Regions from separate parts of the Homo sapiens genome. Here regions 1 and 2 are each linked to region 3. Evidence: promoter capture Hi-C in 16 types of primary human blood cells and fetal thymus (Javierre and others, 2016). All regions are on one chromosome and are shown on one strand. The core of a region is centred on a gene start or on the middle of the fragment in contact, and the rest is flanking DNA. Distances in the headings are between cores, read along the strand shown.

Region 1 (4,383 bases), core at 829-3,328, 930 kb before region 3:
GCAAAGCAGTTGGATAGAAACGCAATCGTTATTGGTGACAATTTCTCACAGTTCTACAGCTCCTTACGGTTTATAATGCATTTCACACTTATTCTTGCATTTGAGTTTTGCAGAATTTTATGTGTGTTCCTTTCTCTGTCGTCACTGAGTGCTCACTCTAGGCAGCCCTCTGCTAGGCGCAAGTGGCAGGATGGAGGAGCGTGCCAAGGACTAGGAGATTACATGGAGAAGCTAACATTAGCCTTAGTGCTTCTTTGCCATTTGGGGAAGCAGATTTTGGAAGCTGTCACTTCCAAGGTGGAGTTCTGGGAAGTGTTTGGGCTTCCCCTTAGCAGGTGCTCCCTAAATTCTAGGCACTCCCCTCCAGCACTAGAGCTTTGTATTCTGACCCCTGACCCTCACAGCCCTTTGCCTTTGATCAATGTATTTTCTCAGACTGGAACCTCCTTCCTCTGCTTTTCCCTGTTTATCAACCTAGTTTAGTTGCCCCTTGCTTCAGACAACCTTCCCTGTCTCTTTCCCTGCAGCCCCCGGAGTACTGTAAGGCCCTCCACCAACAGACACCTTTCACTTTATTGTCCTGAATCACAGGTTTAAGCTTAAGCTGGGTTCCCTCCATTAGATCTCTGGAGATCCAGAATTAGGGTCAGATTTATTTCTGTTTCCCTGCACAATATCTGTTACATAGCAGGTATTGTGTTGGAGAGGGAATGAATGGATGGATGAATGAATGAAGAAACTGAATTGAGTCCATCTCAGCTTCTCCAACAAGGACAGAAAAGAAACAGCTCAGGAGACGTAATCTTATAACATGGGGTTTCTCTGTAATTTGCATAAATAACCCACTCTACTAGGTTTCACGCCTCTTGGGAGACCTACCAGCTGCCTGCCTCTCACTTCCAGTTTCCAAAGAGGAAGGAAGGTTTCTACCAGCCCAGCTCAGCTGGTCCAGGGACTAAATTACCTTCCCATCACTGAGCCCCTTTCTCATTATGCCAGAGGAAGATCACTACTGCCTGTCCATTTGGGCGGCTTATCCACGTGGCCTGGTTCCAGGAGCCATCTGTGTGATGTCATTCCCAATACGATTTGAAACTTCCAGCATCTGCAGCCCCCACTGGTGTTGAATCATAGTGAGACTGGCATTATCATCACCTCCACTTTACAGATGGGAACTTATCATGGTGAGGGTTCTAGAGATGGGGTGGGGCCGGGCCCTGTGTCTCCAAACGAGCCCAGTGTATCTCTTGAGGCTGGCCTCTCCCTCTCCCTGGTACAAGCCAGGGCTTCAAAATCCAAAAGATCTTTCTTCATCTTTTCCAACCCACTATGACCCAAATATGCATCTTCCTTTAAGGAATGTCTTAGATTTAAAAAAATTAAAAACTCAAAAGCTTCTGAGGCATCTTACCTGAGCTTATCAACATCTTTCCCCCATTCCTTCTGATATAACTACTTGGGCTGACTTGAAGCCTCACTTAGGTGCAGCTGCAATGGTGTGAGGTTTTTGTTGTTGTTATTGTTTTTGAGATGGCGTCTGGCTCAGTCATCCAGGCTGGAGTGCGATCTTGGCTCACCGCAACCTCCGCCTCCTGGGTTCAAGCAATTCTCCTGCCTCAGCCTCCCGAGTAGCTGGGACTACAGGCATGTGCCACCACGCCCGGCTAATTTTTTTGTGTTTTTAGTAGAGATGGGGTTTCACCATATTAGCCAGGGTGGTCTCAAGCTCCTGACCTTGTGATCTGCCCGCCTTGGCCTCCCAAAATGCTGGGATTACAGGCATGAGCCACCGCGCCCGGCCGGTGTGCGGTTTTATTTGAATGGAGCTCCCGTTTGAAATAAAAGCTCTATGATCTAACCTCTCCTGGGCCTCCTGCCTTGCATCCCTAGGGGAAGTTTTGGGGCATAAAAGTCCAATTTCTTTTCGTATTGGACGCTTGGATGAGAGAAAGAGAAACGAAATCCTGGCACTGAAAAAAGCAGAGACAACCAAACCCAATTATTCCTACTAACTGGGAAGGAATTCCATTTGAGTTAGTGGTTCCCAAACTTGTCTGATGATAAAACTTGCTCGATTGGAACCTTTATGTCTGGACTCTGAAAAACCTACATTTTAAAAATTAGAGATTCCCTCCCCAAATTTTATCAACAGGGAAGACAGGGAGGAAAAAAGTTTGAGCTATAGACTTAATTCATAACACCTTCTTCTTAGACTTGAGAGATTCTTTAGGCATCTATCGTAATGATTTGATAAGACCGAAATGGAAGGAGTCCAGTTAAAGCAAGAAAAAACATCAAACATGCTGAAGATTCTCCACCCTTCATTTTAACATAATTTATTATTTTACAAACACTTTCATAGCACTTACTATGAGTCAGACTTCATGCTCTGCAAATATTTGCTTATTTAATCTTCAGAGAGGCTTGCAGAGGTCCGATGGGGTTAAGTCACTTGTCCAAGGTCACATAGTTATGAGTGGGGGAGCCGGGGCCCAGACTCAGGCCGTCTGGCACCAGATTGGTTGATATAAACCACGCAGCTATATGTGTTTTAAAAAACCTCTTTTCACTTGGCCACAGAACAAACCCTGTCTTCATAATCATTGTGAAGTAAATGATTGAAGAGCCTTGTCTGAGTGATTTCAAATATTTTGCTGGCGGGGTCCAAATTAGCGATCCTGTTATTGTACATGGAGCGTGGTCTGACTTTCTCTTTTGAGGGCAAAACATGCCTATTGTTATGGCAATCCCAAATGCTGCATAGAAGCTTTAAAGAACAGATTCTAATCCCTTTGTTTCTCACTCCAAATGTTGAAACAAACCTCAGAGCTCTGCTGATTCCTGACAGATTTGAGTCTCTCTGCGTTTCAAATATTTCAAACCAGCTTGGGAAGCAAACACATGATATTCTTCTTTCTCTTGCATGGTTTATTTTTAAAGCATGCATCTGGCTGCTTTTTCATTTCCCAGAAGGTGGAGGGAAATTACTCTACAGCAATGGCTGGGTGTTGGATCGCAGCTTCTCCCCACAAGCAGGAGGCGACAACTCCGTCCAGGTCCCAAGCATGACCTTAGCCTGTTTCCAGTCTGAGCCCTTGGTGAAGAAACCTCTGACCAGCAAGAAGCTGGGCTTCTTGCACATGGCTGGGAAAGAAGTTGCTGGTGGCTTTTACATGTTTATCATCCCTGAGGAGCAGTCTAGTTACTCTCTGATCATTCCCCATCAGCTCAGAGAGCCCCTTTCTGGCTCAGAAAGCTCATTGTCACAGTGCCACAAGCATTACTGAGCATTTGCCATGTGTCAGACCCTGGGCTAGACATGACTACACAACTCTACAGACCAGGCATTATTAGCCCCCGTTTTTCAAAATTGAAGACTGGGGATCAGGGGATGTAAGTATTCTACATGCCTGAGGCTCTGCAGTGCGTGAGAGCAGAAAGGAAGGCGACTGGAGACCAGGCTTGACACCTCTGCTCCCTCCACCACTCCAAGTAGTGAGCAGGCATTCTTATCTAGCATTCTTAATATAGCACCCTGGGTAGTCTCTGCAGGAGCAAATGAGCAGCAAATGTGTTCAGGGCAGCTGGGAAAGACTATTTGTAGTCTGAGAACTTGTGGCTTGATTATATGTGTTGCTTCACAATTTTCTTGGAGGAGCCTAAATCCTGCAAGGAAGTGCAAGGTGTGAAATTCAAATAGCCTTTTGGGATTCCAAATACACTTTCACTAATAGCCTTCATCAAAGAAGAGCATGTGACTCCAAACAGGTGGTTGATGTTAACCCAGTAGCATCCTGCGGTTGCTAGTTATTTTCCCCAAGGAGCTGTAGCTGAAACTTTCGTGTACAGCAAATGGCAAGAGAGCTGTGGCTTGAGATATGGCTTTCATCAGGCCCCTTTTCTCCATCCCAGATGCCACTACATTCCCTTGGTTCTAATCATTGAAATATCCTCCTTCAGCCTCCTTCTATCCCTGAGTGCGTCCCCTTGGCTCCAGTGTCCATGCTGGCTGCCAGGTGACCTTTCTGAAAACAAATCTGACCATGTCACACTCCTGCCTCACACCTTTTGATGGTGCCTCACTACCCTCAGGGTCAAGTTCAAAGTCCTTAGTGTGGAGTACATGGCCCCTGATCATTTGTTCCCCAAAAGCCCTGGAATACCTCGTGTCCTTCTTCATTCTCCATGCTCTCTGTCTCAGCCAGAATGAATTGAGCTATTTAGTTATTCTTGTATCTCCTTGTTATTTGAATAACAGTATCTCCCTGTTATTCAAACATGCTGTGCTCTTTTAATGCTTCTGCATCTTTGCACATGCTATCCTTTCATCCAGGAATGCCCTGTTGCCTAGCTAGCATGCTTGTCCCTGCTTACTGACAACTC
Region 2 (3,957 bases), core at 698-3,197, 730 kb before region 3:
GTGCTGGGGTTTTATTGTTTGTGTGATCTGATTGATCTGAATGTGTGGCTTTCAGTCTGGTTTTGAAACCCTTCAAGATCCCCAGAGAGGCTGGGCGCAGTGGCTCACATCTGTAATCCCAGCACTTTGGGAGGCCGAGGCAGATGGATCACTTGAGGTTAGGAGTTCAAGATCAGCCTGGCCAACATGGTGAAATCCCATCTCTACTAAAAATACAAAATTAGCCGGGCATGGTGGCAGGTGCTTGTAATCCCAGCTACTCGGGAGGCTGAGGCAGAAGAATCGCTTGAACCTAGGAGGCGGAGGTTGCAGTGAGCTGAGATGGTGCCACTTGCACTATAGCCTGGGCAACAGAACAAGACTCCGTCTCAAAAAAATTTTAAAAAAATAAAAAATTGACCTTAGTGTAAAAGATATTTAGTTAGCATTTTTTAAATAAAAAGTTTTGTAGCTGCAAGCAAGTTTGAAAACTACAAGTCTGCTGTCTCAGTTTTCTATGGATTGCTGGTCCTGACATTCTCTTTATATATATATATATATATATATATATATATAAAATAGTAGCTGAGATTACAGGCACCCACCACCAAGCCCCACTAGTTTTTGTATTTTTAGTAGAGATGGGGTTTCACCACGTTTGTTAGGCTGGTCTCGAACTCCTGACCTCAAGTGATCCACTTGTCTCAGCCTCCCAAAGTGCTGGGATTACAGGCATGAGCCACGGCACCCAGCCCTGACATTCTCCTTATGTACATAGAGACATAAGCCTTGTTTTGGGAGAACAGAGAGAAATCTGTCCATTCATTCCACAAAATATTTTTTGAGCACCTCCTTTGTGACAGGTACAACTATGCATCATGAAAAATAAAAAGGCCTAGTAATGGCTGCCATTGCCTTTGAGGAGATTGTGCTTGGGGGCACAGGTGACTCCATGGCAGCCAGTTCAGAGGAAGCATTTCGAAGTGAAGTCTAAGCTTCTATCCTTGAACGACTTCATTCCGATCAGCTGTAGCTACAGACACCATTCTCTTCAAGACTTCTCTCTCTCGTTTTTTATTTAAACCTATGTGTATTTTAATATAGAAAACTTTTTTCATGAAACAACTTGCAGGACTAATTTAGGATTAATTAGAATATCTTCAACAGGCTGGGAGCAGTGGCTCACACCTGTAATCCCAGCACTTTGGGAGGCCCAGACCAGAGGATCATTTAAGGTCAGGAGTGTGAGACTAGCCTGGCCAGCCTAGTGAAATGCCATATTTACTAAAAATACAAAAAAAAAAAAAAAATTAGCTGGGTGTGGTGGTGCATGCCTGTAATCCCAGCTACTCAGGAGGCTGAGGCACAAGAATCACTTGAACAGGGGAGATGGAGGTTGCCGTGAGCCAAGATTGTGCCACTGCACTCCAGCCTGGGTGACAGAGAAAGACTCCATCTCAAAAAAAAAAAAAAAAAAAGGAATATCTTCAACAGTTTGCTCTAAATCATAATTATAATAAAAATCCATTAAATTTGCACTATTAAGACTTAGTATTTAAAAGGTTATTTAACAAATAACAAAAATAAGACCCTGCTTTTTTCTCTAGACTTACTTTCAGCACCTCCAGTTTATGAAGCTTTCTTACCCCATGCTCTTGGTCTTTTCCCTCCAAACAAACCATTCTATCCAACTGGGGCCACCTTGATCCATTGGGGGGTTTTAGCATAGAGTGTAACAGCTGCATGCTTGATTTGGTTTGTTCCTTCTGGCTGTTTTCCCTCTTTCACGAGGGGCTGCTCTTTTAACAAGAAGGCTGTAACGTGTAACAAGAGCAAAAACTAAGGCTTTGTTGCATTAAGCCGCTGTGATTTGAGGGTTGTTTGTTACTACAGCATACTCTCACCCATCCTGACTAATACAATCCTATCCGCCCTTGTGTCCCGGGCAAACTGTTTCTCATCCTGTAGCTCAAATGTCCCTCCCAGTCTGTGAAACCATGTTCCACTCCCCCAGGGAGGGGTGGAGTCTCTTTCCTCTGGGCCATCCTTAATTGTAGCACACAATAAGTTTCATTGGATTTTTCTGTGTGGCTTATAAGTGCCTTGCAAGCAGAAGTTATAGTTATATATAGTCATATACAAGTGTTTGTTGATGGACTAAATGAATGCTTGTATTTAGAAATTGCTTCCTAAAGCCTACTGTTCAGAGCTCATTTCTGAGCTGCAAAGACACAGTCTGTCACTGTAAAAGTGACATGGTGCAATCAGCAGCATCTGCCCAACAACTCGAGCTAGGTATGCAAGCTTGAAATCAAGACAGTTAGGAGAGAGAGTCCATAAGGTTTCTTTCAGACTCCAATAGTCAGTGCCCTGTGAACATAGCTGGACCAGAAAGAGACCTTCCTTGGCCAGTGTCAGGGAAAACAACACAGTCCTCCACATTGAAACAATTTGTTAGCATTTACAAGTTCACATTTTTCTGTATTTTAACTTCTAATTGGTTTCCTCTTTTGTGCTAAGAATGCCATCTGTCCCTTTGACAGGTTTTTGGATTTGATGCCACTTACCAGGAAATATGACCATTATAAGCATTGTAAGAGGATTCAAACGTGTCCATCCCAAACAGCCTTGTTTTAGGAACTCCATACATGATCCCACACTGTTCATGTGTAGAGGTTTTACCATTTTTCAAGCTCCTGCCCCACAGAATAAAGCCTTTTTCCTCTACAATTTCTTAGAGCTTATAATATACAGCAAGGTAACATACATGGCCCCACTTTGATTGTAGATTTCCTATCTTCTCTGTGGCAGTAAGAATATTATTATCCCTATTCGTAGGTAAGAAAACTGAGGCTGTTGGAAATGGACATGCCCAAGATCATATAGAAATAATAGAACCAGGTTATCAAACTTCATTTCTGAATCTAAGCCCACTGCCCTACAGATATCTTTCCCTTATGGAATAAAAGCAGGGATAGGGCTCATTATTCCGATATTATGAACCAGGAGAAGTTAATGGACCGATCTAAAATTCCTCAAGAAGTAAGACACAATTCTAAGCTTGAAGAACTCCAGTCCTCTCCCCGGGTGACCCTGTGTTCTTACTAGGACTACCTTATACTACCTTGACTCTGCAGTACCTTCTTTCAAGCCTAAAGTTACTTGATTACGGACAAGCCATGAAGAGTAAAGGGGTGTGGCCCAGAGAGATTTCCAGTTGAAGAAAGAATGATTCAACAGTCCCATTAAAACAAAGAGACATTTTCTGCAGGCTCCCCCAGGACACACATGCTATGGTCTATTGCTGCGGGGTACATGGAGCCCCTGCAGGAGGGCTGGGACTAGAAGGAAGGGAGGGAACGTTTACTGGACATCCATTATAAGCCAGATGGCTACTTTGTGTAATCCTCACATGATACTAAAAGAAAGATGAAAAAATGGCCGGGTGTGGTGGCTCATGCCTGTCATCTCAGCACTTTGGGAGGCCGAGGCGGATGGATCACTTGAGGCCAGGAGTTTGAGACCAGCCAAGCCAACATGGTGAAGCCCCTTTTCTACTAAAAATACAAAAAAAAAAATTAGCTGGGCACGGTGGCTCGAGCCTGTAATCCCAGCTACTTACGATGCTAAGGCACAAGAATCGCTTGAACCCGGTAGGCGGGGGTTGCAGTGAGCCGAGATGGTGCCACTGCACTCCAGCCTGGGCAACAGAGTGAGATTCTCTCAAAAAAAAGAAAAAAAAGAAAGAAAGAAAGAAAGATGGAGAAATAAAGCCTCAGAAAAGTTGGACTATCCAACATAGCAGAACTCGCTGTCATGTCTGGTGTCAGAGCTGTTCTTTCCAGCATTCGCTGCACCAGATGCTGTAGAAGATGGAAAGGCAACATGGGAAAGGGTGCTGCACTCAGGAACTGCTCATCCTGTTAGGGGAGTCGCACACACACACAGGAATCTGATAAAGAACCCCCATGGCCGGGC
Region 3 (4,272 bases), core at 1,667-4,166:
AGAAATGCTGCTCATTTTTCGAACCCCTAGTTCCCAAAACTGTATTTGGTACAAAGCAGATACTCAATAAATGTAAGATACATAAATAAGTTAGAGGATTCAACATCAAGGCTGGGCAAAATGCCCCTGGAGGATGCCTCTAACCCTGAGATTTTATAGCTTAATTATGCCTAAATTAGTTTTCAATCTCTGGACAGTGGTCCAGGGCTGTCTTTAAGATTGAGATCTCCCAATAGAACTAGGACATTATGGGTCCTTCAGCCTTTCAAAGTGTTCAAAGCATTCCCGGTAGGCTATTCTATGCCATCCTAAAAGAACAAGAAAATGTGGCCAGTAGGATAGATGCTGTCAACCCCATTTTAAAGATGGAGAAACTGAGGCTATATGAGTGAACTGACTTTCTCAGGACCAACATTTGACACTGAGGCTGCTGATTCTCTGGTCTTTTTGTGCTACCATAATACGTGCTCAGCTTATTTTTAACAAACCTAGAGCATGGCAATGTGAAGGGACTGGCAGGGAATGGAAAAGAAGAGCGTGTACTGAAGAAAAAAACACCAGGGAAGGGAAGGAACAGCCTCACTGGAGAGGGTCACTGACAGCTGACAGTGGGTGCCCCTATGGCCCTGGGGAGCTATGAACTCCTTGCCCAGGGCTGGCTTGGGAGGGTCTACTTGACTCTGGGTCCCTGACTTATCTAGTTGCATCTAGGCCTGGGAGCAAATGCAAACTGAATTCTTCTTGGTGCTGAGTAAAAACAGGAAGTCACAAGTGGCTTTGCTCTGCTCTCAGCTGGGGTCCTCAACAGTTCAGGTCAAGGGTACACTTGGGACACTCCAGACAGCTTCCTGGCAGCTCCCTCCACAGTAGTCCAGCAGGGACAGGAAAAGTGGAGACACCTTCTAAAGAGCCTCCTATAGTGTGGGTTTAGGCAGCTGGACTAAGGAAGTCCCTGTGATCCCTCGGACAGGACCAGGGAGCCCAACAGAGATGCGTGTATGTCAGCTTCATCACTTTTCCATTCATTGAACCAAAACTGAGGGCTGACTGTGTGCTCAAATCAATGTGACCTTAGGGAAATAACTCACTTGCTCTGAGCTTAGTTTCCTCATCTGCAAAGTGGAAAGAGCCCCTGCCCCATGGGGCTATTGTGAAGATGAAAGGAAATAACACCAGTGAGGTCCTTTGCCACATTTGGTATCTATTTTTAGCACTGAGGCAGTATGCGCCCACTATGTGCCCAAGCCCGTGATGCTGCTGCTGCCCCCTTCCCAGAGCCAGAGCCCAGAGGCAGGAGGGAATGTGGGCAGGTCTGTTTCCACCTCGCTTTCCCACTCTCCCCTCACAGGAACCCAGGGCCAGCAGGAGGTGAAGTTCTGCCAGCCCCCAGCCTGGGCCCAGCGCCCATGTTTATGACTGTTTATTTCAGAGCAAGTAGAAAGGAGAAATTAGAGCCATGAAAGACAGGACAACGGACCAATAAAAACCAGCTCCCAGAAGAGTCAGAAGGAGGAAGACAGGCAAAACTGTCACCATAGCAACACAAGACAGTCAGAAGCACGCAGGAAAAACAGCCCCTGCTCTGCCTCCTGTCTCCACTGCAAAGCAAGCCCTCGAACCCCAACCAGAGATCAGTGAAAGCCGACAATGATCCACCCAAAGAACTCTGGTACCCAAGCCCAGACCTGGCTAGCAGCCACTCTCCTCCTGCTGCCCCAGCACAAGTCCCAGCCTTCCAGGGTCCCAGATCAGCATTCTGTGCCCTGGGGACTCGACACTGTGCAGATGGCCCAGGTCCCATCCAGAGGAGATAGTGACTGGTGACAGAGAGGAAAGTTTCTAACAGGGAGAAAAGGAGGGTCACAGAGCTTCAGGGGAGATCAGGGCCCTAAACTCCAGCCCCATGACCCTGTCTTGGGTTCCCTGGGGAGCAGGCGGGTAAACAAGGGTGTGGGAGAGGACATCAGGCCCTGGACACAGAAAGATTGCTCCATCAGTTCTGGACCTGGCACCCCCAAAACAGTGGCTGGGGGAATTCTGGGGATGCGTGGGGAAATAGCTTTGGAGGCCTTAAATGACAAAGATCTTGGCCCTGGTCTCTGGGGACACTGGCTAGCGAGTAGGAGCAGCTTGGAGGAGGACCCAGGGACGGGCTGGCCCATTTTGACAGAGAATGTCTCCTGGCAGACAAGACAGGTGTCTCCACCAAAAAGCATGGCTGGCCTGGGACCAGCATTTTGGGAAGTGGGTCAAATTGTTCCCAAAGCTCAGTATTGGAAAAGTGCCTTTTGCCAAACTGGGGTTCTGGGTTCTGGGGGAGGAGAGAGGGTGACGGCAAGGTGTGCTGGGTCCTAGGCACAGCAGCTTTCTGGCTGGCTAAGAACGTCTGTGGCAGGTGGCAACAGAAGGGTCCAGGTGTGCAGGGGCTGGGGAGGGGGCCATCCCTCCCTTTGGGGCTGTAGAGAGTACCCAGGACCCCGGGGCCTCGGGTGGTGGGAAGGGGAGTGTTAGGGGTCCCCTGCAAGAATGGAGCTTATGATACCTGGGGTGGGGGGTAAGTGAGTGAGGGACGAGGGAGGGTGGTCTGGGAAAGGAACACAATCAGGAGGCAGCCCTCTCAGAAAGAGGGCAACGGGGCACAAAGCCGGACCTCTGTCCGGCGATCGCTAGAGAAGGGCTCCCGGACGGTGTCCTCCGCTCTCCCTCCCTCCCAAAGGCTGCAGGGGCGTCCGGGAGGAGAAGGATGGCAGGGAGGCGCCCGCCCCGCCTCGCGGTGCCCCGCGGTGCCCCGTGCAGGCCGAGCCCCGCGCCCGCAGACCCCCGCCCGCGCCCCTGCCGCGCCCCCAGCCGCGCCGCGCTCACCGAGTCGCCGCCGCCCTGCTCTGCCGCCCGCTCCGCCGCCGCCGAGTACGCCTCTCCCGCGGCCGCCGCAGCCTGCGAGACGGCCTCGGAGCCCCGCCCCGCCCCTCCCCGTCCCTCCCCGCCCCGCCCCGCCCCCAGCCCGGCTCGCGGCAGCCGCCCCGCCCCGGCCCCGGGGGATCCCCACCCGCGCTGTCACCGGCCGCGTCCTCACCCTAGCCTGGACAACCCCATCTCTTTGCCCGGCTCTGCTCTCTGCTCCCAGGAGCTGGTGCGGACCCGCCCCAGCACGGTCGCCCCTGCCCCTTCTCAGCCTTGGCCACTTGGCCTTGCCTTCCCAGAGGAAGCCCGAACCAGACCTTTCTGTTTCTGCACACCAAATTCCTCCACACCCACGGTTGCCCTCCAAGAAAAAGAAATCCCCGCAATCTCTAGACGCATATTCACCTTCAAATTAATGCCCAGCCAAATCATCCCAATCCCTAGGCACACTCCAAATTACTTGAGATTCTGAACCCAGTCTCGCTCCCAGTCCCTTTCTGCCCACCCTATTAACAGATCTCCAGCCTTGGGGCCCGCAGTTATCCGATAGGACCACTGTAAAGTCTTCCCAAAGGCTCAATCCAAAACATGTAATTAACCTTAAAGAGTAAGTCTGCAAAAACACTTAAAAAATTCTATGATGCAAAAAGAAAGTAGTGGGTTACAGCGTCATTGACGTGATCATTGTTCTAAAACATCTGCCATGGAGGCTTTTTGCATTAGAGAGAGGGAGATTCAGGAAACCGGAGAGGACTCAGCAGTGCCAAACAGGTTGTGAGTCAGAGCTCCTGTTGAGGGGAGGGAGAGCTCCTGGGGACCCCGGCTTCGGGTGCTTCCTTTCCCAGTCCATCAGCCAGAACATCATGAAACATGTGTTAAATCCCCATAGTGTGCCAAGGTACGTGCCCGAAGCTGCATGGGTTGGGGCCCTGTGTGGGCTGGGATCAGAGGAGGCGGGAAGCATCAGGAGAAGGTGTTCAGGCCCCTCTCCTTTCTGAGATCCAGGGTGTTTCCCCTGGGAGGACTTGTTGCCCAAGCTTCCTTTGCACTCTGAAAGGCTCTCCTGAACTGCCCACAGAGGCTCTTGGTCTGTTTTTTGGCAAAAATTCACAGAGGGCAGGAAGGCACTGTCTAGTTAGAGTGAAATATTTTCCCACTTGGAAGGGGTCCTTAGGACCAGAAGAAACACTTTCCCGTTCTCTTTTTGAGTTTTCCCCATGCCCTAGACCAGCCTCTGTTGTCAATTCCTGCAAAGGTGTTTTTTTTGTTTTTGTTTTTTGAGACAGAGTCTCACTCTGTAGCTCAGGCTGGAGTGGAGTGGTGTGATCTCGGCTCACTGCAACCTCCATCCCCCGGGGTTCAAGCAATTCT

The links. Contacts are between HindIII fragments. The CHiCAGO score rates a contact against its expected background, and 5 or more counts as called.
Region 1: a fragment that was not itself captured here is called in contact with the fragment with the promoter of CYRIA in region 3 in 1 of 17 cell types (endothelial precursors); the score reaches 5.8 in endothelial precursors.
Region 2: a contact is called between a fragment that was not itself captured here and the fragment with the promoter of CYRIA in region 3, in 2 of 17 cell types (fetal thymus and naive CD8 T cells). The highest score is 5.3, in fetal thymus.

What each region holds. Positions count from the first base shown.
Region 1 is chr2:15,731,546-15,735,928 of GRCh38, forward strand. No RefSeq gene overlaps it. Among named protein-coding and RNA genes, the nearest start is that of LINC01804, 43 kb to the left of the region's middle. RefSeq lists a silencer at 742-801. The HindIII fragment of the contact is 1,373 bases long and covers 1,393-2,765 here.
Region 2 is chr2:15,929,172-15,933,128 of GRCh38, forward strand. The region is part of intron 2 of MYCNUT (MYCN upstream transcript); the gene reads left to right. Among named protein-coding and RNA genes, the nearest start is that of MYCN, 9.4 kb to the right of the region's middle. The HindIII fragment of the contact is 667 bases long and covers 1,615-2,281 here.
Region 3 is chr2:16,662,918-16,667,189 of GRCh38, forward strand. CYRIA (CYFIP related Rac1 interactor A) reads right to left here and starts at 2,917. Exons shown (of 12, transcript NM_030797.4): 1 at 2,863-2,917. RefSeq lists silencers at 2,834-2,883, 2,954-3,123. The HindIII fragment of the contact is 7,241 bases long and covers 1-3,936 here.